4 separate regions of the Homo sapiens genome follow, and regions 1, 3 and 4 are each linked to region 2. The links are contacts of gene promoters, found by promoter capture Hi-C in blood cells and fetal thymus (Javierre and others, 2016). All regions are on one chromosome and are shown on one strand. Each heading gives the region's core, a stretch centred on a gene start or on the middle of the fragment in contact. The rest is flanking DNA. Distances are from core to core; before and after follow the strand shown.

Region 1 (3,019 bases), core at 520-3,019, 1.3 Mb after region 2:
TTGTTAATGTCCCAATTCAAAAGGTAAGCAGAAGAGTTTTCAAAACACTTTCTAGCTTTTTCCTGTCCTTTCCCTGGGTTAGTCAGTGACAGGACTGCTCTGTTCAGAAAGACTTGCCTTCATATTCCACTTTAGCTTTCAGGCAATAAATAGATTTCACTCATTTCATGCCATCTCAGAAAACCCTCTTTCCTTTAAAATGAGACATTTGTCCCCAGTAGCACACATAAGCTCTATGCTTATAAAACACTTTTCAAACTTAGAAACACCACACGAGAAATACTCAAACACAAACAAATATCCCTTAAGTTAGGATCTACTCAGTGACTTCTTATAATGGTTAATTATGTAGAATACAAACTTACACTAGTTAGCCAGGGCATATTTACTTTACTCCTTGGAGAGAGACCACTCTCAGTGTTCACTATAAATAAGCTTTATATTTCCTAGATGTAAATACGAAGATATGGAGATGAGAATAATCATTCTGGTTATGATGCCAACATTCATTATCAGGGAATAACACTATTCCATGATAATAGCTAAATACAACTTGACAGACTATGCCTAACTTGGTAATTATGCCTCTTACCCTTTTTTCCCCAATACACAGTGTATTTTACTTTGAGAAGACCTGGCCTTCTAGCTTTTGACATCTTTGGAAAAAAATGGCAGCTTTTTTGTGGGTGCAATAACTTCTCAGTAATAACTCATCTAATCGTGGGGGTGTAGATTTTAGATGACTGCTTTGGAGACAAGACAAAGTCCCATTTCTCATGTATTTTAAAATTAAAAACTGCTAATTTGGGGGTATTAGCAATACCCAGATTCATTTTAAAATAAGTGCTGAATCATCTGTATATTTGGGGACAGCTGTGGTCGCAAAGAACCAAAATACTTTTGTTTGTTTGCTTTTTATGGCACCTATTACAGCTGTTGCCAATAATATTACTCCTCTGACCTCTTCCATTGACATGTCTTAATCTGCCATAGCAATTCTGAATATGTGTAGGGCAGGTAAGGACAACATTTAGGAAAATAGTGTTATTGATCTTATTTTAAAATAAGGATTGAGGTACATGAGAAAAGCATCAAACCAATTCATAACGTCAGTAATTTTAAGAATCTTTATATTAAATACTATTAATGAGAGATTAATAGAATTTTAGAATTTTAATACTTCTTAAAAGTAAAGTCTCTTGGCTAGTGCAGTAAAATGAAACCATGCCGAATTCCCAAAGGGCAAAAAGAACTGACAGCTAAACCTCAGCAATTAGAAACAATATTGTTTTAATGTTGTCTTCTTTGTTTTTTAGTCATTTCAATTGTAAAATCAACTGAAACTTAGGTTCTCGCCATCTATATAAAAACTGAGAGAGGAGGCCTCAGATTGTATGCAGTGCCACGGAAAGCACTGTGTGCATATTATATTTAATGCAATACAGATACTTTAGCTTTAATTTTAAAACAAAACTCAAGAAATCTTTATCTCCACCAAAGAAGAATACAGCATTTGCATGATAATATAGTTGTGGTAGCAGTAGTGGAAAAACAAGATACAGCCACATAGACAGCAGTATGTAAAAGGGAAGAACCTTGTCAAACCCATCTCTTAATCTACTTTTTGTGTCAGTGATAAGGAAGGAAAAAGGTAAAAATACAGTATACTTCACGAAACATCATCCACTCAAAAAAGTGTCTGGAAAAAGTACAGGAGAGAGAATGGAACCATTCGCAAATGTGAAAAACACATATATCAGCGAAACATATGCAGTTCTCAATGCAGTTACATAGGAAATGAGTTTTGAAATGATCTGATTCTCATATTATCTCTGGTGTATTATTCAAGTTGTCAGTTACTGCTTTTTCTACTCCTTTCCCAATTTTGTGGCTAATAGACTAAATACCACCCTAATAACAAAAAGGACAAAGTAGCCCATTTAAGAAACATGAATTAAATTTCTGAGTTTATCTACATCTATGGTTAATTTCAACTTTTGAATGAGTGGTTGTGAATAGCCTAACTCCCTTGGGAGAACTGTAAAAATAATTGTATGTGACCAAGATGAAAGCAGAATGTATTCAGCTTTGGATATCAAACACAACTTGTGAATTTGGAAATGTACATCCTTCTATTGATATTAGCTAGTGTCATTAAGCCATAACAAACAGTAAAGCTAATATTCTCTTCTCAAGAAACAGAATTTGTCTTTGTCTTTAAATAGCCAATGTGAAAGATGTAATAAAATACACATTTTCCCCCTACCAGATCCATGATGGCTACCTTTGAAAGAGGACTGATATAATTGTATATAAACTTGGCTTTGAACTATTTCACAGGTAAACCAATGGAAAACTGCCAGTTACACTTAAAGCAAAGAAAACATGTAAGAATTCTCCCACAGAAATTTACCGTTCCTACGTCAAGCAGTTCCCTAAATAACCACTGATTTATCCAACAACCTATAACAGTTGGGCACTGACTTTATGCATAACATTTGCTAGATGTTGCTTAACTTCTCCTTTCCCAAAGGACCCTCATTCTCGTCCTGATACTTTGGGTGTATCTGGATGTTTTTCACTTGTGAAACCCACTCTTCAGAGAATGCCTTTCAATTTTACCTTCAGTAAGATGCATGATGCCCTTCAGAGTAACTGATGTTTCTGAGTTAGAGAAAAATTCACTTGCTATCAACAGGTTGCAGCGAATTTGCTGGCCTTTCTTTCATTTCCCTAGAAACACAGGATGTGAAGGAACAGAGTAGCAGGAGGGAATCACAGATGAGAAGGAAAACTGTCGCCAGAGAAGATGAAAAAAATTCATGCTCTATACTGTGTTCATCTGTAAAAAGACAAAATGTGGTTAAGTTTATTACACTGATCTTGTGAAATGCAGACTCATACATTAAACATTGCTTGTCTATTCTAGAATGAAGTAGTAGGAAGATACTTGCAATGGCAAATAAATACCGTGGAATAAGAGGGCCTTCAGCATGTACTATGTATTATCCTGGGCTAA
Region 2 (2,788 bases), core at 170-2,669:
AATAAACAAAAAGACTTACAAACTCGCTTCTCTGTCACCTCTCTTATTTATTTATTTGAACCCCTGGCCTCAAGTAATCCTCCCACCTCAGCCCCGAGTGGTTGCGATTACAGGTTTGAGCCACTGCACCTATCTACCTCTCTACCAATGAGACTAGACGTCCATCATCCAACAGATACCACCAAATGGTTAGACCACAAAACCAAACTCCCAATCATTGCTGCTATCAATGTATCAGTAATGTATAAGTTATACCTGAATAACTTATCAGGAATGTACAAATCAGAAATGAAAACACAATCTTTAAAAATCAATTATAAAGGAAAAATATATAACCACTTGGGTTTTCTGTAAGAGCAAATAAAAAACATGCCTGGCCTTAAACAACCCATGATGTATACATTTCTTTCGCCAGATAGTTTGATTCATCACATAAATCCAGTTGGGCATCTCTGTGGAAACTTAAGATTTCCAATAATATAGTATAATTATCAAAAACCTAAAATCATGTCTCTAATGTGAACATAAAATATATACATGTCAAACTTTTATTCAACTCATTGGTTAGTGAGGGAACCGATGACTTTAAAACCAATACAGAATATTAGAGAAGCTAGGCATATGTTAATAAAGAAATGTTAGGACAGAATGCAGGGTTAGATACAAAACTGACTAATGTGTTGCAGAACAATAAATCATAACCTGTGTTGGTATCTGGTACAACAAAAAATTATTTGCATCTCTACCAAACCAAAATCTCTACCAAAGTTAACCTTTGCCCCTACAGAATTGTAAAACAGCCCAGTCAATATAATAAAGTCAAGTCCAGAGCAGCACTGAAAGAGCATCCAGTAAATAAATCTCTTTTGCCTATTTCCAAGTTTTAGTCATTTTTTCCACAGAAATGAGATATTGCAAATATTGCACGGGACATAGATGCACTAAAAAACTATTAATTCATCTGAAGTTCATACTGTATTTTATCCGGCAACCCTAACCACGAGTTAACCAAAACTTTACCAAGTCTGTACAGTTCTTTTGCCAACACGGTATCTCTTAAATCTGTTCCTTAGCTTCATCTTTCCCTAGATAATAAATATCATATTAAGCGCTGTTTCTATTGCACGACTATTCTTCATATTTACCACTGGAGGGCGCACAGAACTCGTAGTATACTAGATAAGAGGTCATGAAGAAACCACCTGAGCGTTTCTGCATCTCAACCACAAGAGGCCAGTACAGGAACCTCAGATTTTGCAACCAGACTGTTTACTCGCTCCCTAAGCAGCCATGCGCAGGCGCGAAACTCCTCCCCAGGCCAGACCCGGCCTGCGCATGCGTTCAAGTGAGCGCGCAGACGCTATTGGTAAGACTCGCGGGAAAAGAAAGGGTGAGCGCGGCTGGAAGCGCGCATGCGCTGTGGCTAATGCCGTAGGCTCCTTCAGGGCTGAGCCATCCCGCGTGTCTTGCGCTCGGTGGAAATGCCCAGCCGAGGGACGCGACCAGAGGACAGCTCTGTGCTGATCCCCACCGACAATTCGACCCCACACAAGGAGGATCTAAGCAGCAAGGTGAGTGTGAGACGCGACGAAAAGGCTCCTGGACTCGGGACCGGGCGCCACTGGACCCTGAAGGTGGTCCGCAGCGGGCAGCGTGGGGCCTGCCTGGGCCTCGGCTTTGCCCTGCTACTTTGCTCTTTTTATTCATAGCACTTGACAGCCACAGTTAGTCCTTTTATTTTCTGAAAACAGTTGCGAAAAGGGAGATCTTGAAATTTGTCCCGAGACTGGACCCAGGTGACAGTGGGGCGGAGTTTTGGTTGGGTGTTTTCCTCCCTAGTCTTTTTAAACTTTTGGAAATACCGCCCACCCCAAATCTGTTCCATCAAAGATATTCTCCATCCAGTTAACCATGCCAGCAACCCGGGGTCCATCCTTGACCCCCATCATGGAAGCCTATCAGTTCTACCTTTGAAGCTCATTTCAAATATGTCCCTTTATCACCGTGAACACTCTTACCACCCCAAATAAGCCACCGTCATCTGCTATCGGGACCCCTGCCCCCGGCAAGGCCTTCCTAAGCGGTCTCTCCTCATCCACCTGTTAGCTGCTGCTTCTCCGTTAACCAGAGCAATGGTCCTAAAACACGCATTGGGTTGTCACTCATACCAAACTGGGGGAGAGAGGAAGCCAATATAATATAAGCCTTAACTGCCATAAACAAACAACCTTTAAAGATAAATGGGGGTGGCGAGGGTTATAGCCCTTCAGGTATTACATGTCCTAGATTCTACTTTGGTTCTGTCCCAAACTTACAATGACATCTTGGGCAAGTCTCTTTAATCTTTCTGTATCAGTTACCTTCTTTGAAGTAAAGTGAAATGTACACCTGTCATTCCTAAAATGGGAAAGCCCTGTATAAATGTTAAGTCTCAAAGAATGTTTACAAATTTGGCCTTGGAATTCAACCTCATTACTACAGCTCTGCCAACGGGGGAGACAGAAAGGTGCACATTCATGGGGATTGGGGGTGAATTTTCAAAAGACACACAGCCCATTCTGATTACCACCATAGCAAGCCACTTACGCATACTGGTGGTTACAGATCCCTGAGGTGTGTGTGAGGTAGCACAAATATGATAAAAGCTGCTTTTAGAGGCTCTTGTGATACTATGTAATCAGTCATGTTCACAAAATAAATAGAGTTAAAAAGAAACTTAGTTTTCACTTAGTTGAGCCCTCCCCTACAAATAAATGAAGCCCAGGCCAGCATGGTGGCCCAGGCCTGT
Region 3 (2,800 bases), core at 162-2,661, 1.0 Mb after region 2:
CCTCATAAATAAAACTAGAAAGAATTTAGAATTCTTTTAACATACTTTTTCTCTTATTTCATTTGAGTCTTTCTCTTGTGATTCTCAGCTTGTTATTTTCTATTTAAAGAAAGTAATATACAAGACTGAGCATGGTGGCTTATGACTGTAATCCCAGCACTTTGTGAGGCTGAGGCAGATGGATTGCTTGAGTCCAGGAGTTTGAGACCAGCCTGGGCAACATGGCAAAACCCCATCCTTACAAAAATTAGCCAGGCATGATGGCATGTGCCTGTAGTCCCAGCTAATCAGGAGGCTGAGGTGGGAGAATCACTGCCCCACTGCACTCCAGCCCGGGCAACAGAGCACAACCTTGTCTCAAACAAAGGAAAAAAAGTTTTTAAGTAACGTACAAATAAACTTAAGCTTAGCCCATTTTATAGTGTAACAGATTTCTAATTACAAGGCCCAAACTAATGAGACAAGTTTTTCTCTTTTTTCAAATCTTTAAGTGTTCTAAAATCCTTTATAACAATAAGCATATGTGCCACATTGCTGGCTTTTTCCATCTTAAAAACATAATTTTTACAGGGAACAAAAAGAAATGTAATGTTGAGCAGATAAAATAAAATAACATCAAAATAATTTGACATGTAAAGGAAAGAGAAACATTTTTTTGCTTGTCATTATTAATGCATTAGGGTACACTAATACAAGTAGTGCTGTGTTCAAGCTCAGTAAGATCTTTCGTTCCTAAATACTGTGTTTTCCTGATCTATACATGAAGGCTTGGGTGGAATGAAGTTATAATTCATTGACTTGTCTGATTTTTCTACCTGGAAAGCTCTTATTTATGTAGTAGGTTGTTCCCCCTTAAAGGATAGTTACTTATTTGATTTAAAAAAAAAATAGCAGTATACACATTGCATAGAAGTAATCAAGATAATCTGTTGTCCTTAAATAGTGTTCCTCCTTACAGGGTATGTTAAACATTAAAAAACAGATTTTGAACTTTAATTCCTAGAATATATGAGATGGACATGGAGAAAAAGATCGCCTGCTAGCTTAGGTGTGCCTTAAGGAACCTACCATTTGGAATGAAATCTCTAGGGAAACGTTTCTTCAGCTAGTTAGTAAGTGAGGTTGGAATCCTTCTGCTTAGACGGAATGAATAACATGTCCACTGGAACACAGCCCTCTGTGAGTCCACTTTCAGCTGAAATGAAAATAGATTTTGTTTATTCTTACTTATCTTTTGAATTAGATCTAATTAAATCTTCTCATTCTGGGGCAATTGTAAAAATCGCTACTTTGTATTGCTTTTATTTTGTGTCAGTCCCTACTAGACATTTGGAATTCATTATCACAAACATTCTTGTCTAACCTATGTGGAGGCTTTATGATTTCCATTTTACAGCCAAGGAGAGACCCAGACAGGCTCAGTATCTTCACCTGTGTTGCCAAACTGCTATCCAGTAGCAGAGCCGGGGCTTCCTATCTATGTCTGATTCCTGAATGTCAAAGCAGTACCACCTTCCTAGGTGCTAATGATTATTCACAAAGCATCTTACCTGTGAAAAAAACACTATTGGGGTTATACCTTTCCTCCTAGTACCGTGTGAAGGGCGAAATGTGTGCAGGACTGGTAGTCTTTGAAAAGGGTGGATGGTGGCAGTTATTATTTTCTAATCCAAGAAATGTTATGTAGTAAACAGTTACAAGTTTTGAGTAGAAAATTTAACAATGTAAATTACAAAATATTTAAATATAAGAAATTTTCATTTGATATGCTGATTGTTTATGAGTAAAAACCTTGTGTTGGGAAGATACACAGAGTAAATCAGAAAAATTAGTTTGATTTCCTTATGTCCTACCTATGAAAGAACATATTTAAGGTGGCTTGACAGCTCATTCAAGGGGATGAAAAATCAAGAGCCAAAGTCCCTGGCTCTCTTGTCTTCTCCTAAATTTTTTTAAATGTTAGTTAAAAGTGAATTCAATTGGTAACCTTTCTTTTTCATTAAGAACACATTCAGTTCCATGAACAAATTTGTTATTAACTCCAATGTTATAAGTAACATCTTAGAAGGGAGGAAGGATATATAAAGCTACAGTCTCAGACCTGGTGATGGCAGCTGACTAACTGGACTGAGTGCTATTTCTCATTTGAGTTTTCTTCATTCGCTGAAATTGCTGGAGACTGGGCAGAGATGGGAAATGACAGCATTCTTGACCCTGTGGGAGTCAGAGGTGCAAAGCATTCAGAGATAAGTGGATGAAAGAAATGAGGTTTGTTAATAGAGCCCAGGAAGTCAGAGAACTGGGGCTTGAAGAAGAAAGACCTAAAGGAAACATCTGCTAGCAGTTCCAGCAAGGTGGGGGTGGGAGAGCAAGGAAGGGGGAGGAAAGAGGTTCAGAATATCCACCTACGCTGCTACTAAGCTTGTTGAAAAGAAAGCTGGTCTAATTTGACGTAGACTCTTCCCCTCTGGATCAGAAAAAACAGAAGCATTACAATATGCTATTCATACAGAAAGTGTGATTAGAAAAAAGGAAAATGCACATGTGGGGTTGAGAACATCTGCTGTAACAAGTCATCTAGAGACAGCTAAGCAGTGGCTTTAAAGCAGCTTGCTAGTGTTCGGCAGAAAGGATGAGGAGGCATGGGGATGGAGACCAATGGGATGAGAGTAATTAGGTCATGCACCAGCCTCCGTCCCATAGCTTTTATTTTCTCAGTGATCAGACCCAGAGTCTCGTCAGCAAGGAAACACTGTGATTAATGGCATCAGCCAAAAATATGACATGGAGATAGATTGCT
Region 4 (2,808 bases), core at 204-2,703, 1.2 Mb after region 2:
CACATCTATATTCAGTATTGGAAAAATAAGCCATGTTTGGCAGGGCTTATCAGTGAGGCTAGGAATTTGGCCAGTTAAAGCAGGAAACCAACAGAAGAAAGGGAAGTAGTAGCAGAAGCTTGTTTAGAGGCTTCCTGAACCTTACTCTATTCTCCAAACAGAAGAATTTCAAAAAAAGGCTTAGGCAATTCTTTTAAGCTGTTAGTCAAAGGAAAATTACTTTCTTTTTAGTTCTAGGTCAACAAATAATCTACTAGTTTTTGTGAAGGCGCAATCTGGAATTTCTATATATATATATTATTTTATCTTATTTTATTTTATTTTTTGAGATGTAGTATCGCTCTGTTGCCAGGCTGGAGTGCAGTGGTGCGATCTTGGCTCACTGTAACCTCGGCCTCCCAGGTTTGAGTGATTCTCCTGCCTCAGCCTCCCAAGTAGCTGGGATTACAGGTGTGTGCCACCACGCCCAGCTAATCGTTGTATTTTTAGTAGAGATGGGGTTTAACCGTGTTAGCCAGGATGGTCTCAATCTCCTGACCTTGTGATCTGCTCGCCTCAGCCTCCCAAAGTGCTGGGATTACAGGTGTGAGTCCACCGCGCCCGGCCTATATATGGATTTTATTATGATCTTGAAACATTAGCCTTTTGTAATCTTCGACAGAACAAAGAAGCTCAGGAACATAGAAGCACAGGAACCTTTCTTCAAGTTAGAACAGACACAAAGTGCACAAATTCCAATTATTCCTTTTGATGGCTGATTACCTGATGATGGCTATGGGACAGCAACTCTTTGTAGTGTAGCTGCACTTAGGAGCAAAAAGGAAGTCGAAGAGTAGATCTGACAACCCAACCATAGTTAATGTGGAGAGCATTTTTCTATTTGTAGATATTTTGGTGGACTACTTATTGTATGTATACAAATGTTTTTATACTTTTTACATGATGATTACATGAGTTTATGTAATGATATAATTCAATTTAACATAACTGAAACTTCAAAGTTGTGTAATGGTTACAAAGTTGTAGATAAAAATATCTTTAAAGATTAAAAAATTATATAAGATGAAGAAAAGAATCAAATGAAAGTATTGAGTCACATTTTTATTCTATTTATAATAGTTTCTTTGCTGTCTATAACCTTTTCATTAGCCTTCTCAAACAAGGGGTTAAATTTCAGTGGACTCAATTCTTCCAAATTTTGGGAGTAATATCTATCCATTCTCACCAAAAGCAGAAAGTCTGGAAACTACCAGAAAATAAAACTCTAGAAACTAGAAACTCTAGAAAATAATCTGTTACTAGGTTAGCTTTCTTATTTGTTAAGTGAACTATAAAGCCTTTAAACCTTTAAATATCTAAAACAATTTTCATAAGAAACTCAGAGAAATTAAGGGAGAAACTGAGAGGAAAACAGTAACTGGATTGTCAGTTGCTTTGTGTTGTTGAGAAAAAAGAGGCAGTTAAAATTGATAACTAATTGCAGCTAATATATTGGACAATATTAAAGTCTGCAAGTCATTAACAAGTCAGGGTTAGGCAGGGGTAATATTTGTTACCTTTCCTCTGAAACTTGATGTCTCTATTCCTGAATATATCATTACTTTGATTCATCAACATTTTTGGACAAGTAACATTAGTAATAAAAGCTATCTAAGTACTTTCCCATTGTCCTGCTTTTTTTTTTTTAAATAAAAAAGGTGACTATGTTTTACACATGATAGTTTTTTCCATGTTCTTCTGGTTAAAGAGCAGATAGAAAAAAAAAACTTAAAACACGGCAAGGCTGTAACATGCCAAAGGTCACATAACCTGTAGGTACAGCCAGATTTCCTAATTATTAATCTATTGAAATATTTTACAGTTCACTAGATTACTAAATCCGGTTATCAATTAATGATGCACCTGACATACACCCTTCTAGTTTCATAAAAATCACCTCATTAGGCCGGGCGTGGTGGCTCACGCCTGTAATCCCAGCAATTTGGGAGGCCCAGGGGGTGCAGATCCCTCGAAACCAGCCTGGGCAACCTGGCGAAACCCCGTCTCTACCAAAAATACAAAAAAAAAAAAAAAAAAAAGCAGGTGCTGGCTGAGGTGGGAGGATCACCGGGGCCCCTGAGTTCAAGGCTGCAGTAAGCCGTGATCGCGCCACTGCACTTCAGCCTGGGCGACAGAGTGAGACCCTTTCTCAAAACGAACACACACAACAACACAGTAACAACACACCAACCCCCAAAACATCTTATTAAACTCTGTGGATCTACTCCATTTAAACCTAATTGTTTCAGGAAATAGTCTAAAAACATTTTTTTGTCCTGGAATGTAATGTGTATGTAGCCTCAGGGAATAACTCAGTTTATCAGGTTCTTGGCTGTTTTTCCACAGGTCCAAAAGGATAAATGGATAAAGTGATGCTGAAATAACTTAGAGAACCCGTATTCCAACGCTTCTATTTTAAAACAGTGAAGCAGTTTTTAAAATAGAAAAGTATCTACAGTTTTGCTTTCAAGCAAATAGCGTTAACGGAATCATTGCTATTCAAAACTATTTTTGAAGTATCGGTGTACATTTAAAAAAAATAATTTTTAAAAAAGAAAGCTGTCGTATTCTGGATTCCGCAACCCCCCCACCCCGCCTCGCCACTCGTCGCCCTCCCTCCACCTCCACCCTCCCATGGCTTAAGTCGCATAGCTGAAAGGATTTTGCTCATTTTTTCCAAAACACTTCACGTCTGGGTAGTAGCCAATCATGGAAAGTTTCAAGCAAATGTTACATTTGGGAGAGGGATGAAGCTTGTCCGGGGCTGCT

The links. Contacts are between HindIII fragments. The CHiCAGO score rates a contact against its expected background, and 5 or more counts as called.
Region 1: a fragment that was not itself captured here is called in contact with the fragment with the promoter of ASNSD1 in region 2 in 1 of 17 cell types (neutrophils); the score reaches 5.2 in neutrophils.
Region 3: a contact is called between a fragment that was not itself captured here and the fragment with the promoter of ASNSD1 in region 2, in 1 of 17 cell types (neutrophils). The highest score is 5.4, in neutrophils.
Region 4: a contact is called between a fragment that was not itself captured here and the fragment with the promoter of ASNSD1 in region 2, in 1 of 17 cell types (non-activated CD4 T cells). The highest score is 5.2, in non-activated CD4 T cells.

The regions. Positions count from the first base shown.
Region 1 is chr2:190,967,876-190,970,894 of GRCh38, forward strand. It overlaps STAT1 (signal transducer and activator of transcription 1), which reads right to left. Exons shown (of 25, transcript NM_007315.4): 25 at 1,274-2,842. The coding sequence ends at 2,828. Among named protein-coding and RNA genes, the nearest start is that of STAT1, 45 kb to the right of the region's middle. The HindIII fragment of the contact is 2,672 bases long and covers 434-3,019 here.
Region 2 is chr2:189,660,040-189,662,827 of GRCh38, forward strand. ASNSD1 (asparagine synthetase domain containing 1) reads left to right here and starts at 1,420. Exons shown (of 6, transcript NM_019048.4): 1 at 1,420-1,571. ASDURF (ASNSD1 upstream open reading frame) reads left to right here and starts at 1,420. Exons shown (of 4, transcript NM_001353493.2): 1 at 1,420-1,571. The coding sequence starts at 1,482. RefSeq lists an enhancer at 1,478-1,667. The HindIII fragment of the contact is 6,437 bases long and covers 1-2,788 here.
Region 3 is chr2:190,676,324-190,679,123 of GRCh38, forward strand. The region is part of intron 6 of NAB1 (NGFI-A binding protein 1); the gene reads left to right. Among named protein-coding and RNA genes, the nearest start is that of NAB1, 29 kb to the left of the region's middle. RefSeq lists an enhancer at 2,415-2,464. The HindIII fragment of the contact is 2,016 bases long and covers 404-2,419 here.
Region 4 is chr2:190,877,521-190,880,328 of GRCh38, forward strand. It overlaps LOC124906110 (a long non-coding RNA gene), which reads right to left. Exons shown (of 2, transcript XR_007087791.1): 2 at 1-2,808. Among named protein-coding and RNA genes, the nearest start is that of GLS, 1.9 kb to the right of the region's middle. RefSeq lists an enhancer at 2,689-2,808. The HindIII fragment of the contact is 2,674 bases long and covers 117-2,790 here.